Linked DNA regions of Homo sapiens: regions 1, 2 and 3 are each linked to region 4. Evidence: promoter capture Hi-C in 16 types of primary human blood cells and fetal thymus (Javierre and others, 2016). All regions are on one chromosome and are shown on one strand. The core of a region is centred on a gene start or on the middle of the fragment in contact, and the rest is flanking DNA. Distances in the headings are between cores, read along the strand shown.

Region 1 (3,373 bases), core at 734-3,233, 3.5 Mb after region 4:
TGGGGTCTCCCTATGCTGCTCAGGCTAGTCTCAAACTCCTGGCCTCAAATGATCCTACCACCTTGGCCTCCCAAAGTGTTGGGATTACAGATGTGAGCCACCATGACTTCTTTTTCTGATTTTCTTGGGCTAACAGCACCTGCCATGTTTCCCTCCCCATTGCCCACCCCCAAGTTTTTTCAAGAGAAACCAGAAAAAGAGAGCACTTGAAATCTCTCTATTTTTAAGGTTTGGCACTTGATACAAAATTACACACACATACATACACACACACACACACACACACGAGTGTAGGCTAAATAAAACAGCTCAGGGGCTGTAGTTGGCAGCAAGAGATAAGTGATGGAAGCCCAAGGACACCCTGGGAAGTTAGCAGAGCCTGGAGCCAGAACTTAGGGATCCCTGCAACTCATCGTATTTAGGTCATGCCACCATGCCTGCAGCACTCTCCAGCTCTTGGCAAGACCATGGGTTTCTTCTAGCTGATTACTCTCCCTGGGGGATTCTGCCTCCAGAGCTAATTCTGCCTTCAGGGCTACCACTAGTGGGGCCCAGGGCCTTCCTTGCAGCTTCATTCTGTGGATTTTGGGGAAGGGCAGGGGGAGAGTGGGTGGGGGTTGAATTTTGGCAAGGCACTGAGGGTGCTTCTGAGAGTCATCCAGGGCAGTGGGTTTGGAAGTGGGAAGAGGACCATGAGTTCCTCTGCTCTCTTAATGTGAAAGGGTAAACCAACCTGGATGGTGTCAAGTCAAGAAGGGACCCTCCAGGTCCATCCCTCCAGGGATGAAGGGAGGGGTGTGTGTGTGTGTGTGTGTGTGTGTGTGTGTGTGTGTGTGTAGGCAGGCAGGGAGCTGTGGACCCAGGGCCAACACAAAAGACTGCACTCTGCCTCCACTAGATTAAAATGGAAAGCCAAAGTTGTCTCAAGGTGTGGAAAATAAATCTTGGTGTTTTGTTTTCTTTCACAATCAAACCTAATGGGAAGCCTCCTAACCTGTGGCCCCAAAAGCGGGGCATTTTAGCCCAAGGCAATTTCTCCTCAACAGACTACCATGGGTTGTGGGGAGCAGACACAGGGAGGAAACTCTCTGAGGACTGTAGCCCCCAGGAGCTCTCCCTCCTAGCTTCGGCTGACAGTGGGGGAGGGGGAGTGGAGGCCAACTCCGGCTTCCCTATTTCCGGACCCAGCGAAGCCCCACTCTTTCCCGCCTCTTTAGCCTTTCTGAACTCGTCGGGTATGTCCCCATAAGAAGCACTTAGACCTTTTATTCCCGCGGAAGTGGAGCGCCTGCAGCCAGAGGAGCAGGGGACAGCAGGGGGCAGGATGGGGGTGAATGAGGGCTGCCCCCCACCCTCAGCAGGCCAGGCGCCGCTGGTAAGGAGCCGTCGCCCAGAGCCTGCCCCTACCCTGTCCTCGGCTGCCCAGGGCTCGCTCAGTTCTGCCTGCCCGGCTGGCTGCATGACAATGACGGCTGCAGAAGCCGAGCGCTGCGGCCGCCGAAGGGACCTGGCGCGAAACGGGCCATTAAGCCCAGAATGGCGGCAGGGTGGGGGTGGAGGTGGGGGTGGGAGTGGGACGGGGCTATTTATAGAACAAAGATCCGCGGCCGCCGGCTGCCCCAGCACAGGGATGCAGCCCTGGCCTTGCCCCACGGGCGTCCTGCGCTGGGGAGAAGGCCAAACTCCCAGGCCGCCCGGCGGCAGGGCTGGGCTTTCGGTGGAAAATGGCTGGGTCTAGGAATGGAGCGCCTGTTCCTCCCTAAACGCCGAGTCCCAGGGTCTAGAGGACAGAGCCCCAGAAATGCAGGGAGGGCGCGGCGCGGCCAAGCAGGGAAGGGAGTAGTTCCCCAAAGCGGCCACTCTGCTCTGACTGCAAACTGCCACCGCCCTCGCCCCGGGACCCAGGGAGGCTGGGAAGATCAGGTGCAGAGAGCACCCAGGCGGCGGGCGGCTCTCGGCGCTCCGGGGCTAGGGCGGGCGGGCGTGTCCCGTGCCTGCTCTGCCGCTATCTCCCGCGCGCAGGAGCTGACGGATGGCTCTTTAATAAGCCGCCCGTTAATCTTCCCCCGCCTCTCCAACCTCTGCCCGGGGACATCCGTATTTTCTGGCCCGATAAGGCTAGAGAATTTTAGTCGGTGAAATGTAGCCAGGAAAGTGAGGCCTCATTGTTCAGCCAGAATCACTCAGCTGTGTCCCTTCGAACAAATCTCCCTTTTTCCTTTAAAAAAATTACATCCTTTGGGCGTTTTCATTTCAGACCCTCCTGTCTCCAGAGAGCAGTTCTTTCTCCTCTCCAGCTCCCTGATCTATTTTCTTCCTTCCCGGTTCTTTCGCCGCCTGCGGCTCCTCGTCCCTGCTCGTCCCCTTTCCCTTCCCTCCTCGCCTTCAAGGATGCGCCAGGCAAACCCTCGTGCCTCCCTCAGGCAGGCCATGGAGGGCTCCAGGCAATCCTTTTCTTTAGCCTCCGAAGCCCCAAAGAAAGAAACTTGAATCCGTTATGACATCTCAGGGCAAAACCCCTCAAGGTGGAGAGACCACTTTCAATGCGACCCGACTGCGCGGGTGGAGGTGCGAGTGAGGGGTAGGCGATGATGTAGGGGATGGGGGAGACGTGTCAGCTACAGCTTTAGGCAGATACACCGCCTTTGGTCTGCTCTCCAGCAAGCCAGATCAGTTCACCTTTTCTACGCGACCTTTGGGACGCGCAGGCAGAGTGCACGGCACCGGGTGGGAGCTGCTTGCGCGCAGGGCTAGGAAGGCGGGGTTGCCGCGCGGGGGCGCTTTCCTCCCGCTTCTGCGCCCAGGCAGGGCACCCGGCGTTCGCTCCACTGGGTGTTGGGGATTGGGGACTCCAGAGGAAAAGACCCCTGGGGACCAGGTCTGGGGCGGGCAGAGGAGGGTCAGGGCCTGTAGGGGAGCGTGGTCGCTGGCTGTCCTGGCTGTAATTACATTAGAAAATCAGACCCATGAGCCCGGATCCCCCTCCGCTTGCGTCCCAGTCTCCCAAGCCCCAAAGGTCCGCCCGCCGCGCCACCCAGCCGGGCCCCAGTGGGTCCTGTCACTTACCGCAGATCTTGAGCCCCAGTTTTCTGGTGCATCCATGGGCCACGCCGCACCAGGTATCGTACGCTAGGACGAGAGAGAGGGAGAGAGGTTCGGTTAGGGAGGTTCCGACCGCGGGGAAATGGGTGGAGGACAATGGTTTTCTTGGGGGAGGATGAGGACTTTGCCAGAGCTCTTCATTAAAAGCTACTTCCTGAAAGGAGCTAGGAGCCAAATCTGTGAGCCGACAGGCATATACTCTAAGCCCCCATCATACTCCCTTCCTGCTCCTGGCTTCAAATATGGAACGGTGTCTCTGAGAGGCGGGGCA
Region 2 (3,122 bases), core at 347-2,846, 3.6 Mb after region 4:
CGCCGCCCCTCCTCCGTCCCGGCCGTCCCTCCCCCGCCACCGCACCCCACGCACGCACCCACCGGCCGAGGGAAACTTTTGGTGCCTGCGCTACCTGAACGTGGGGCCCGCGAGCGCTTCTTGCTAAACTACTTGGTGCACTGAGACGCCATCCAGCCTTAGAGGAAGCAGGCGCGAAGTGGGAGGGGGAGGCATCCGACGGGCCCCTCCCGGCTCCGTGGTCAGTAAGAGTCGGGAAACACCCACAACCCCGCCGGCCGGCCGCTCTCCCTCCCATCTTTTAAGCTCTCTTGTCCTCACTGCCTTCGCGCTCCTCCCTGGCCCGCCCCAGGCTGAAATCAGCAGGAGGGCCCAGCAGGGTGAGCTCCGGTCCTGTTCTCGGCCAGCCGGGCACCTCCGAACAATCCCGGATCCACGCGTCCCTCCAGCAAAGGCCACACCGGATTAGGTGTGAAGTTGGCGTGGGCACCCCTAGGCCTGGCTCCAGCTGCACCCATCGGCGGGGTTCCCTTTGAGGTTCAAGGTGCACGGAGTACCAGGAGAGATCCGGACACGGCCCTTTCCACCTTTCTCCCGCCCCCTCCGGGCTCGGCCCTGACCTGGAGAAAGGCCTGCAGCGAGTCGTTCCGGAGGACGGCCACCGCGGCCATGGCTACGGCTTGCAGGCCCCTGGCTGCGGAGCGGGACGCCGCCGCCGAGGCATGGACACCCGAAGGCGAGGACGAAGGGCCGCCCAGCCTGCCTCCCTGGCGCCTGCTCTGAGCGCCGGGGCCCTCCCCGCCCTTGCCCCTCGCCGCGCCCCGCTCGCTCGCCCCGCGCGCGGTCTGAGCGCTTCAGGATCACCTCCAAGAATTTGATAAGGACTTTGCTGGGCCGCCAGCCAGTCAGAGGGAAGATTTATGGCTTTGAAGTTTGCCGCTACCCAATCATCAAAGAATAGCGGCTCTTTCAGAAGCGAAAGCAAATCCTTTGAATCCACAAAGCTCCTATGGTGTGTTTGTTGGTCTGGATAAAAGAACTGATTATTAGGGGGGATGGGAAGGGAGGAGATAAAGGCGGGACAATTAATGAAGTAATCACTATGTGGGAAATGTATATACACAAATAATTGGATTTTCCTGATCAAAGGGGGCCTTGCCGCCTGGAGACCCGCGCTTGGGTTGCTCGAGACACTCTTCCCGCCCCCCCCAACATACACACACACACACACACACACACTTGCAATTAAAGATTTGCACCGACGCAGCGCCCAAAGTGACAAAGTGTCTTTGTTATCTCTGGAAAAATCTGCCTTCGGCTTCCAGGCGCCGGACTTTGAGACGGCAAAGAGTGTAACTCTCCCCTGTATTTACTTGCACACCCTGCACCCTCGCCGCACACGCACCCGCCCGCGCACACAGCGGACCCAAGCGAGATCCCCGGTGGGGCGTGGGACCGACAGCGCCCGGCCCGCCGCGTGTCCCCCGCCCGCCGCGGTGGGGCCGAGGGCAGGGCTGTGACCTGGGGCGGGGCCGGGCGGCCGCCCAGCGCGGCGTTGGGTGGCGCGCACGCTCCAGGGCCGCCCGCCTGACGAGCGACCGGGGCTCTCCTGTGACGTTCCTGCTGGCGACCTGGAAGTTTTCCTCAGGCCACAACTTTTGCAGAGTGGACCTGGGAAAAACACCCGCGCCGCGCATACCCTCAAAGCTGAGCTCGGCAGGACACCCAAGGCGACCCGTCATGCCCACCCGAGGGGAAGAAGCTGTGCTGTCCCGCCCCCTTCTCCCCAGGCCACCCAGGAGGCCCGGGCTGGGCTGTGGGGGGCCGAAAGCCCCAGCGCTGCTGGTGATTTCTCGCCCGGAGCCCCGCCAAGCCAGCGCGCCCTCTCGCAAGCCTGGCAGACCAGGAGCTACTGGAAAAAAGGCGCGGTCGAGGAAGCCTGGTTGTTGTGGTCCCACAAACCACAAATCATACGAGAGAGGATCCCGAAGGCGGGAGAAAAGTCAGTACAGACTTGTTCCTGCCACCTTTGGAAAGAAAAAGTTCCTCACCAGGCGCGGGGCGTGCTTTGCTCTGGGCAGGGTCGCGCTTGCAGGGGCTTGGGTGACCCCCATCCCTCCCTGGCGGCTCACCTCCTGCCGAGGAGGGCCACCTGCCTCCTCCTGGCCCAGGGCGCAGGGCGCGTCCTGCCCCGGCACTGCGGACGCGGGGATCGCCTCTCCCGGGCGCGCGGGCGGGGAAGGAGGAAGAGGCGGGCGGGGAACCGCGGGGTGCTCACCGCCCTGGGGCATTAGGGGTGCGGAACCGCGTTGGAGGCCTCGCGGCCCCGGCTCGCGAGAGCGCACTGCGGAGTGGCCGCCGGAGCTCGGCCTACTCCTCTCCCCCACCCACCTCCCGTCGGACACAGTCTCCACTCTCCAGGCCGCCGGCCGTGGGGGAGCCCCTAATCAGTTCGCGCCCGGCCTCTCTGCCCGTCTTCCTCACGGGAACCGCACTGCGACCGGGACGGACGGGGTGACCTATCTCCCGATGCAGCGTCAGAGGTTAGCCTAACTACAACGGACTCGGAATCTGGACTGTATAAGGATGCCCTCCGCACTTCCATCAGGGGTCGGGGATGCGATGCCTCCGGGCCCACCTTCTCCCACGCCCAGGGCGCGCCTGCGGAATGAGAATATCGTACTCAAGACGGGTGGGCTGCTTGCGACCCAAATACAATGGGTCCCTCGCACATCCTGCACTCGCACGCCCCCTTCTCCCCCAACGAGTTGTCCCCTCTAAAACGCGAGCGGCGACCACACAACTTGGCCGACCCGATCTGGCTTCTGAAGATGAGGTCGGCTGCTCTGGGAGCGGAGAAGGGGAGAGAGCTTAGTGGTTTCATCCGAGGCCTGGCCAACCTGCTCCTTCCCACGCTCCCGTCCAGGATTTGAGTCTTGGAGAAGCGTGAGACTCGAGGGAGCTCTTCCCTGGATGCAAGTCGGAGGCCAGGGAGCCCCTTGGCACACACTCGCGCCTGCACATGCTTGCACCCTCGAAGCGATCTGGTTCCTTAGCGCTGGTTTCCTTTCCAGCTTCTTTGAGATCTTCGAAGTCCCCTTTCCCAGGGAGGCGGGCAGGGCCGGGCTAAGCAGGATGGAAGG
Region 3 (3,238 bases), core at 145-2,644, 3.5 Mb after region 4:
TTTTCTTTCCTCGTTTTCCTTTTCCTCACCTCCAATGCACTCAAATTCACTGAAATACGGCACCCCCAATTCACACTCAACTGACACAGCTTTTCCTAATATCACCAACCACCTCTTTGTTGCTATCCCATTACCCTTTTAGTTCTTATCTTACTTGTCTTCTCTGCAACTTTTTGCAAAGCAGGTTTTTACAGGCTCCTTGAAACTCTTTTTCTGGGTTTCTGTGGTGCTGCTCAATATCAGTTAGGAGGCTTTTGGCAGCAGGTAAAAGAAACCTTGATCCAACTGGCTTGAACAATAAGAAAGTTTATCTCATAACATAAACTCAGAGTGGTGGCTCCCAGGCCCGTCGACTCAGCGGCTGAGCATTAGCAGGGACCTAGGTTCTTTTTGTTCTTCCATCCACAGCATCAGCTTCTTCCTAAGATTAGCTTCTCTCGTGATCATGAGATGACTGCCAGCAGAAACTAGGGCAGCATGCTTCCTGGTTCTTAACCAGAAGAATGGAGGAACATCTCCTCCCAATCATGAAATAAAGTCCTCGATCTTTTTAGAAGAAGTAGGTCACATGTCCATCTCTGGAACAATAACAGTCACCAGAGAAATGCCAGGGACTGGTTGGCTGAGTCTCGTGGCTATGGATGTGGGGAGCGAATATCTGAACAGAGTCGGGACTGTCTTTGCTCTTTGCAAAGAAAGGGAAAAGGATAGTTGCTGAGTAGGAAACCAACAGTGCCCACTATATTTGCTTTCCCAATTTTCCTCTTGGTTGTTCCTTCTCAGTCTATTATGTGCACTTCTCTTTCATGGACTACCACTTAAATGTTGGTGATCATTATAATTCTATCCCTGGTCCTCTCCTATTTGGACTACACTCTCTCCATGGGTCCTTCATTCTGTTTATTTGACTACTATCTCTAAGTGATGACTACTAATAAAGGTATATTTCCCGCCCAAGTGTCTTTTTTAAGCTTCATACCATGAAAACTAGTTAACACTTACCCAATACTTCCTGAGTTAGGCAGAATAATGCACCCCTCTTCTCCCAAGATGTCTACATCTTAATACCCAGAAACTGCAAATATGTTAGATTACATAGCAATGGGGCATTGAGATTGCTGACGGAGTTAACCTTGCTGATTAGCTGACTTTAAGATAGGGAGACTATCTTGGATTATCCAGATGGACCCAAGGTAATCACAAGCATCTTTAAAAGCAGAAGAAAAAGTCAGGAGAGAGAATAGAGAGATGGCAGCATGACAAGGGCTTGGCCAGACATTCCTGGCTTTGAAGGTGGAAAGATGGGGCCAAGGAATATGCGTGGGGTCTGGAAGCTGGAAAAGGCAAGGAAATGGATTATCTCCTAGAGCCTCCAGAAGGAATGCAGCCTTGCTGACACCTTGCTTTTGGCCCAGTGAGACCCATTTTGGACTTAGAACCTCCAGAACTATAAGATCATAAAGTTGTGTTGTTTTAAGCCACGAAGTTTGTGGTAACTTTTTATAGCAGCAATAGGAAACTAATACATTTCCCATAGTCAACTTGTGCAAGTGAACCTCCATCTTCTTCAACAAAGCTGCTTTCCTGTGTTCCTGTCTTTAGGGGCTGGCATCACCATATACCTTGTCCTCCCACTAAGAGTCATTCTTGACCTCTACCTCTTTACCACATTTACTTTATCCCCAATTCCTGCCAATTCTTTCTACCTCTAGAGTAACCCCTCCATTCCATTACATCTCCCTGCTACTGTCTCTTTTCAGGTTACAATTTTGAACTGCTAGAGTCTGTATTCAACTCTAGTCTGTTCTCTAAGCTTTCAAATTTTATTTTTCATCGAGATCCACAGGAAGAAATACATTTCACTTCAAGGTCTAGGGAATACACACTCCTGAAACAAAAGTTTCATAAAACAATGCTTGCCATACTCTTTTGCAGTATATGCTGATAGTTTCTATTCTATGTATTTAACTTTGTAAAACCCCCAGGTATTTGTGATTTACTGCAATGATTTCATAACTGACCAATGGATCGTAATGTGTAGTTTAAGAAGACATCTTTTTTACCTACCAGAATGCTCTTTCTAAAATACAATTATTTTCCTTAAAAGCATTCAATGCCTCCATTACTCTAAGGATAAAGTTCAAACTCTAACATGGCTTCTAAGACCCCCCATCACCCAGTTCTTTTATCACTGTAGCTTCGTCTTTCTCCACTCTAAATGGTTCATTTTATAATCCAACCTTACCTGCTTAACTTTCTGATATCAGATTGTGTCTCTGCGCCTTTGCAAGTTGTGTTACTCTGCTCAGACTGTCTTCTAGACACCCTTTTCTTACAGCTAATTCCCACTTCCTCTACCTTCTTAGCTTAGACTTCACTTCTCTCTAAATGCTTTTCCTGGATGCCTAGACTGTCTCTCCTGCCCTCCCACATTCTCCCTTAGTGCCCAGGACCCACACAATGGCAGTGTTTATCTCCCTGTATTTAACAACAATGCTGTTGAAGAGCAGAGACTGGGTTTTGTTCCCTCCAGAATACCTAGAAGGCCTTCAGTAAATACTTATTGAGGCCGGGTGTGGTGGCTCATGCCTATAATCCCAGCACTTTGGGAGGCCAAGACGAGCAAATCACCTGAAGTCAGGAGTTCGAGACCAGCCTGGTCAACATGGCGAAACCCCTGTCTCTACTAAAAATACAAAAATTAGCCGGGTGTGGTGGCGGGCACCTGTAGTCCCAGCTACTCGGGAGGCTGAGACAGGAGAATCATTTGAACTCGGGAGGTGGAGGTTGCAGTGAGCCAAGATCGCACCATTGCACTCCAGCCTGGGCAACAAGAGTGAAACTCCGTCTCAAAACAAACAAACAAAAACAAACAAACAAACCTTATTGAATACATGAAACTTTTTCAGTGGGTTCCCCTCTGAAGTCTATTGAGTAGGCATTCTTACATATTCTCATATTGTTGGATATTTGGGTTCATTAACATCATTACAATGTGTTGTAAAGTTATTGAAGAAGGCACAGGTCTGGAACTGAACTGTCTACACAGATATAACTCATTGGCAGACTTATTAAATAGTTCCTAGATGCTAGCTCTGTGTGAGGTAACAAAGAACATTGGGTTTAAGGTTCACAAAATCTCTCATACTGGGACATAACCAAGCATCTCTAAGTTTCAGTTTCCTCATCTGAATTCCAACATCCCAGCCAATATTTAACCTTAGATTCCTCAATTATG
Region 4 (3,271 bases), core at 641-3,140:
TGCTGGCTGGTGGAGAGCAGGTGGGAGGCGGCGGCGGCGGAGGAGCCGAGGCCCGTGGAGCTGAAGGCGGAGTGCGTGAGCGAGCTGAAGTCGGGGTTGTAGGTGCCCAGCTGCGAGTGCAGCGAGGCCTGGGGGGCGCCCGAGTGCAGCGAGCTCTGGAGCCCCCCAGCGGGGTTCTGCACTTCCAGCCACGAGCCCGGGCTGCTGTGCACGTCCCACCACGACGACGCCGCGCCGTTGGTCACCTCGCCGGCCGCCAGCGTCGAATGGAAGCCCGACTTGTACCAGGACTCGTACGGGTGCGCCATGCCCACGCGCGGGTACAGCCCGTCGGCTGCCGTCGTGTGCACCTTGGAAATGAAGGCCGACTGGCCACCCGCCTCCTGCGGGGACACCCCGGCCGCTGCCGCCGCGGCAGCCGCCGAGTTGGAGAAGAGGCCGCCGTAGTCGCTGCTGAAGGCGGACGACGTGGGCGACGTGGAGGCCAGGCAGAAGGCGCTGTTGGCGGCGCCCGAGCCGCCCGCCAGGCCGCCCGAGCCACGGCCCCCGGTGGCCACCGCGAAGCCCGAGAGGCTGGAGCCGAGGTTGCAGCTGGACGAGGAGCGCTTCCAGGGGTGAAAGCCGCCTTTGGCGAAGGCGCTCGACTCTGGCAGCGTCGTCAGCGGGCTCGTGTTGCCGATCTTGTTGCAGGTCGCCGCCAGCATGGCCAACGGGGTCGTTCCGAAGCGCGGCTCTTCCTAGAGTGGGTGGGATGGGGGAGGGAGCAAGAAGGAGGAGGGCAAGAGGAAGTGGGGGAAGAAACAAAGTGCACCCGTGAGCAGCCTCGTCCCCTGCGGCTGCTCCCGGGGGGTCCTGGCTCCCCGCCTCGCGCCTCCTCCCCACGCGCCCGCGGAGGAGTCGCCGCACCGGGCGCGGAGCAGGGGCGATCACCCGGGCGAAGGTCCAGGCGCCGGAAAGTTGCACTTCGCTGAGGCTATAAATCAAAGATGCCTCCGTGTTCCCCGCTGCAACCCTGCCTACAACCGGACTTGGGTTGTCGCCGTAAACCGGCTCATCTCCCAGAAGACCCCAAGTCGCCCTTCGGGGTGAAGCGCGAAGGTAAACACAGAGACCAGAGACAACAAACACCGGGTGAGGGCGGAGGCGGCCGAAACAGCTGCCAGGGACGGGCGAAACTTGCAGCTCTCCCAGGGTGGCTACGACTTGACTTTTCTTTTTTAATAGAAAACGTTTGGTTTTAAAGTTTACATACACACAAAAACAGCGATTATGAAAACAATAATCCGAGGATAAGCGGCCAGAGACAGATTTCAAAGTCATGGGCGAATTGGGGAGCCGCGGAAATGTAAATGTTTATTAGCGTGACTAGATGGACTGCAAAACGATTAAGACTGTTTTCTGGAAACACCATTGTCGCATAATTGCAACAAAATCCCCAAAGCAATGCGGGGGATGGGGTATAAATCACGAGGGGAAGAAAAGAAACCTCTAGCTTTTTTTTGAAACCAAATGAAAAAGGACTTGATTAAGAAGGCCTTTTCTTGCAAAGGCATCTTTCTGGGTTCCAAAAACTTGGGGAAAAATCAGTCCCAGAAATGTGGAAAGTGCTAATAGAAGCTGAAGCTGCAGTCTAGCAGCAACAGTTTCTCCGGAGCCGCAGACCCCAGAAGCCATAACGAAAAATTACTCCGGTTAAAACAAGCAAATGCGTTGCCGCGCTTGCGACTTACCCCGAGTATAGACGTGGCCATAGCAGGTCTCTGGCTGCGCAGCGAGGCTGGGAGCGGGGCTGAGCCTGGCGGCTGCTCGGAAAAACTGCTTGGGTCCCGCGCGGCTCCCGCGTCCCCGCGCTCGTGCCGAGCGGACTCCAGGCTCCCGCCGGCTAAACTCAGCCTAAGTGCGAGGAGCACCCGCTTTGAAGTGCCGCTGGCTGCGCCTCTCGCCCAATGAGGGCGCAGGCAGAGCAGACCGGAGCTGCCCCGCAGCCAATCAGACGCTCCGAGGGGCCCGAGCCCGGGCTCCCGGCGCGTGCCAGTCAAGTCAGCTAGCTAGGGCCGCGGGGGTGGGGGGGAGTAGTGGGGGATACTTGCGGGGGGGGGGCGAGGGCGGGCTGGGGACTGAAGAAATTACAGTGCAATTAAAAATTTACACTCACGCACCAAGCCAGGTTTAAGTACCAATGAAACCGAGCCACAAGCACCCCCCCACACACAAACCACCCCGAGATGTTGCAAGTTAGGGCTGACAGTCCTACTCGACTCCCCACTTGTAGGAAAGGAGGCAGGAGGGGAGGAGACACCCAGACACAGCCCGCACCAGCAGGGCCCAAGTGGAGACGGAAATGTGAGCCCTCACTTTGTGTGTCCAGGCTTTTGCCTACAGAACACAACTTCAGCTTGTATCTATCATTCTTGCTTGTGATTTTTATCATTTTCGTGTGTCTTCTACCCAATTCCTTATTCCACTAGATTCAATTTCACTCTCACAGTTATACTGGGGAGGGGGCGCGAAGGGACAGCTCCTCCGAGAGGAGCGAAATAGGCCTCTCTGTACAGATCTACATCCACAGATTTGTTGGGAGGGCCTGGAGCCTGCTGCATCCCGCCATTTCCCCCCAGCGGTGTAAGTGACTTCCTAATTGTCGCTCTGGCCTCTGACCCGGGGGGTAATACAAGTGCCACTCACGCTAGAGGCTTCTGGTGGTAATTGAGGGCACCCTTTGTACGGTTTCGCCAGCGCTTAGATACCAGGTTAACCCAGTTGTCAAATATGACTAAACAGTGGGATGTGCTGATTATCTGCCGGGTTTTGCTGTGGGCTGGCATGGGGGTGGGAGGCATCAGCCCATACAACACGCTGCACGAAGCCGCTTATTTTCTCACTGTAACAACTTTGGAAACAGAGACCGGCGCGAGCGGCGTCCGCCCCCACCTCCACCTCCGCTGAAGCTGCAGCTTGCTCGGCTGTTTGTTTAACCCGGTGAAGATTTGCATGTCGCGTTTCATCCTGGAGTGGAGTTTTCTTGTCCCAGCTCCAACCCACTCCCATTCCAGACCACCAGGGCCTAGAGGCTCGTCCGTAGGGCAAGTGCGCTGTTTTAAGAGGTAGGCTCCCCATTAGTGCCCTGCTTTCACGGACGCGCCCGAGAAATCTCTCCAGGACTTTCACCCGGGAGGGCGGAGGACCAGGCCACACGTGGGCGCTTCCACATTTTGCAGGCTGGAAGCATCCTGAAGTCCTCCCTGGACCTTGTCAGTGTGAAAAGAGGCGT

Evidence for each region. The method cuts DNA at HindIII sites, captures the fragments that hold promoters and counts their contacts. A CHiCAGO score of 5 or more calls a contact.
Region 1: a contact is called between a fragment that was not itself captured here and the fragment with the promoter of SP9 in region 4, in 2 of 17 cell types (total B cells and naive B cells). The highest score is 24.2, in total B cells.
Region 2: a contact is called between the fragment with the promoter of LINC01124 here and the fragment with the promoter of SP9 in region 4, in 1 of 17 cell types (total B cells). The highest score is 6.2, in total B cells.
Region 3: a contact is called between a fragment that was not itself captured here and the fragment with the promoter of SP9 in region 4, in 1 of 17 cell types (naive B cells). The highest score is 5.7, in naive B cells.

The regions. Positions count from the first base shown.
Region 1 is chr2:170,821,843-170,825,215 of GRCh38, reverse strand. GAD1 (glutamate decarboxylase 1) reads right to left here. Exons shown (of 17, transcript NM_000817.3): 3 at 3,067-3,129. Among named protein-coding and RNA genes, the nearest start is that of GAD1-AS1, 4.9 kb to the right of the region's middle. RefSeq lists an enhancer at 1,576-2,375. The HindIII fragment of the contact is 7,722 bases long and covers 1-3,373 here.
Region 2 is chr2:170,713,041-170,716,162 of GRCh38, reverse strand. LINC01124 (long intergenic non-protein coding RNA 1124) reads left to right here and starts at 1,596. Exons shown (of 1, transcript NR_027433.1): 1 at 1,596-3,122. It overlaps SP5 (Sp5 transcription factor), which reads right to left and starts at 826. Exons shown (of 2, transcript NM_001003845.3): 1 at 600-826. The coding sequence starts at 650. The region is part of intron 5 of ERICH2-DT (ERICH2 divergent transcript); the gene reads left to right. RefSeq lists enhancers at 1-452, 453-1,242 and a silencer at 1,460-1,509. The HindIII fragment of the contact is 7,273 bases long and covers 1-3,122 here.
Region 3 is chr2:170,801,445-170,804,682 of GRCh38, reverse strand. No RefSeq gene overlaps it. Among named protein-coding and RNA genes, the nearest start is that of GAD1, 14 kb to the left of the region's middle. The HindIII fragment of the contact is 842 bases long and covers 974-1,815 here.
Region 4 is chr2:174,333,573-174,336,843 of GRCh38, reverse strand. SP9 (Sp9 transcription factor) reads right to left here and starts at 1,890. Exons shown (of 2, transcript NM_001145250.2): 1 at 1,731-1,890; 2 at 1-737. The coding sequence starts at 1,751. LOC102724194 (a long non-coding RNA gene) reads left to right here and starts at 1,868. Exons shown (of 3, transcript XR_427194.5): 1 at 1,868-3,104; 2 at 3,219-3,271. The HindIII fragment of the contact is 13,141 bases long and covers 1-3,271 here.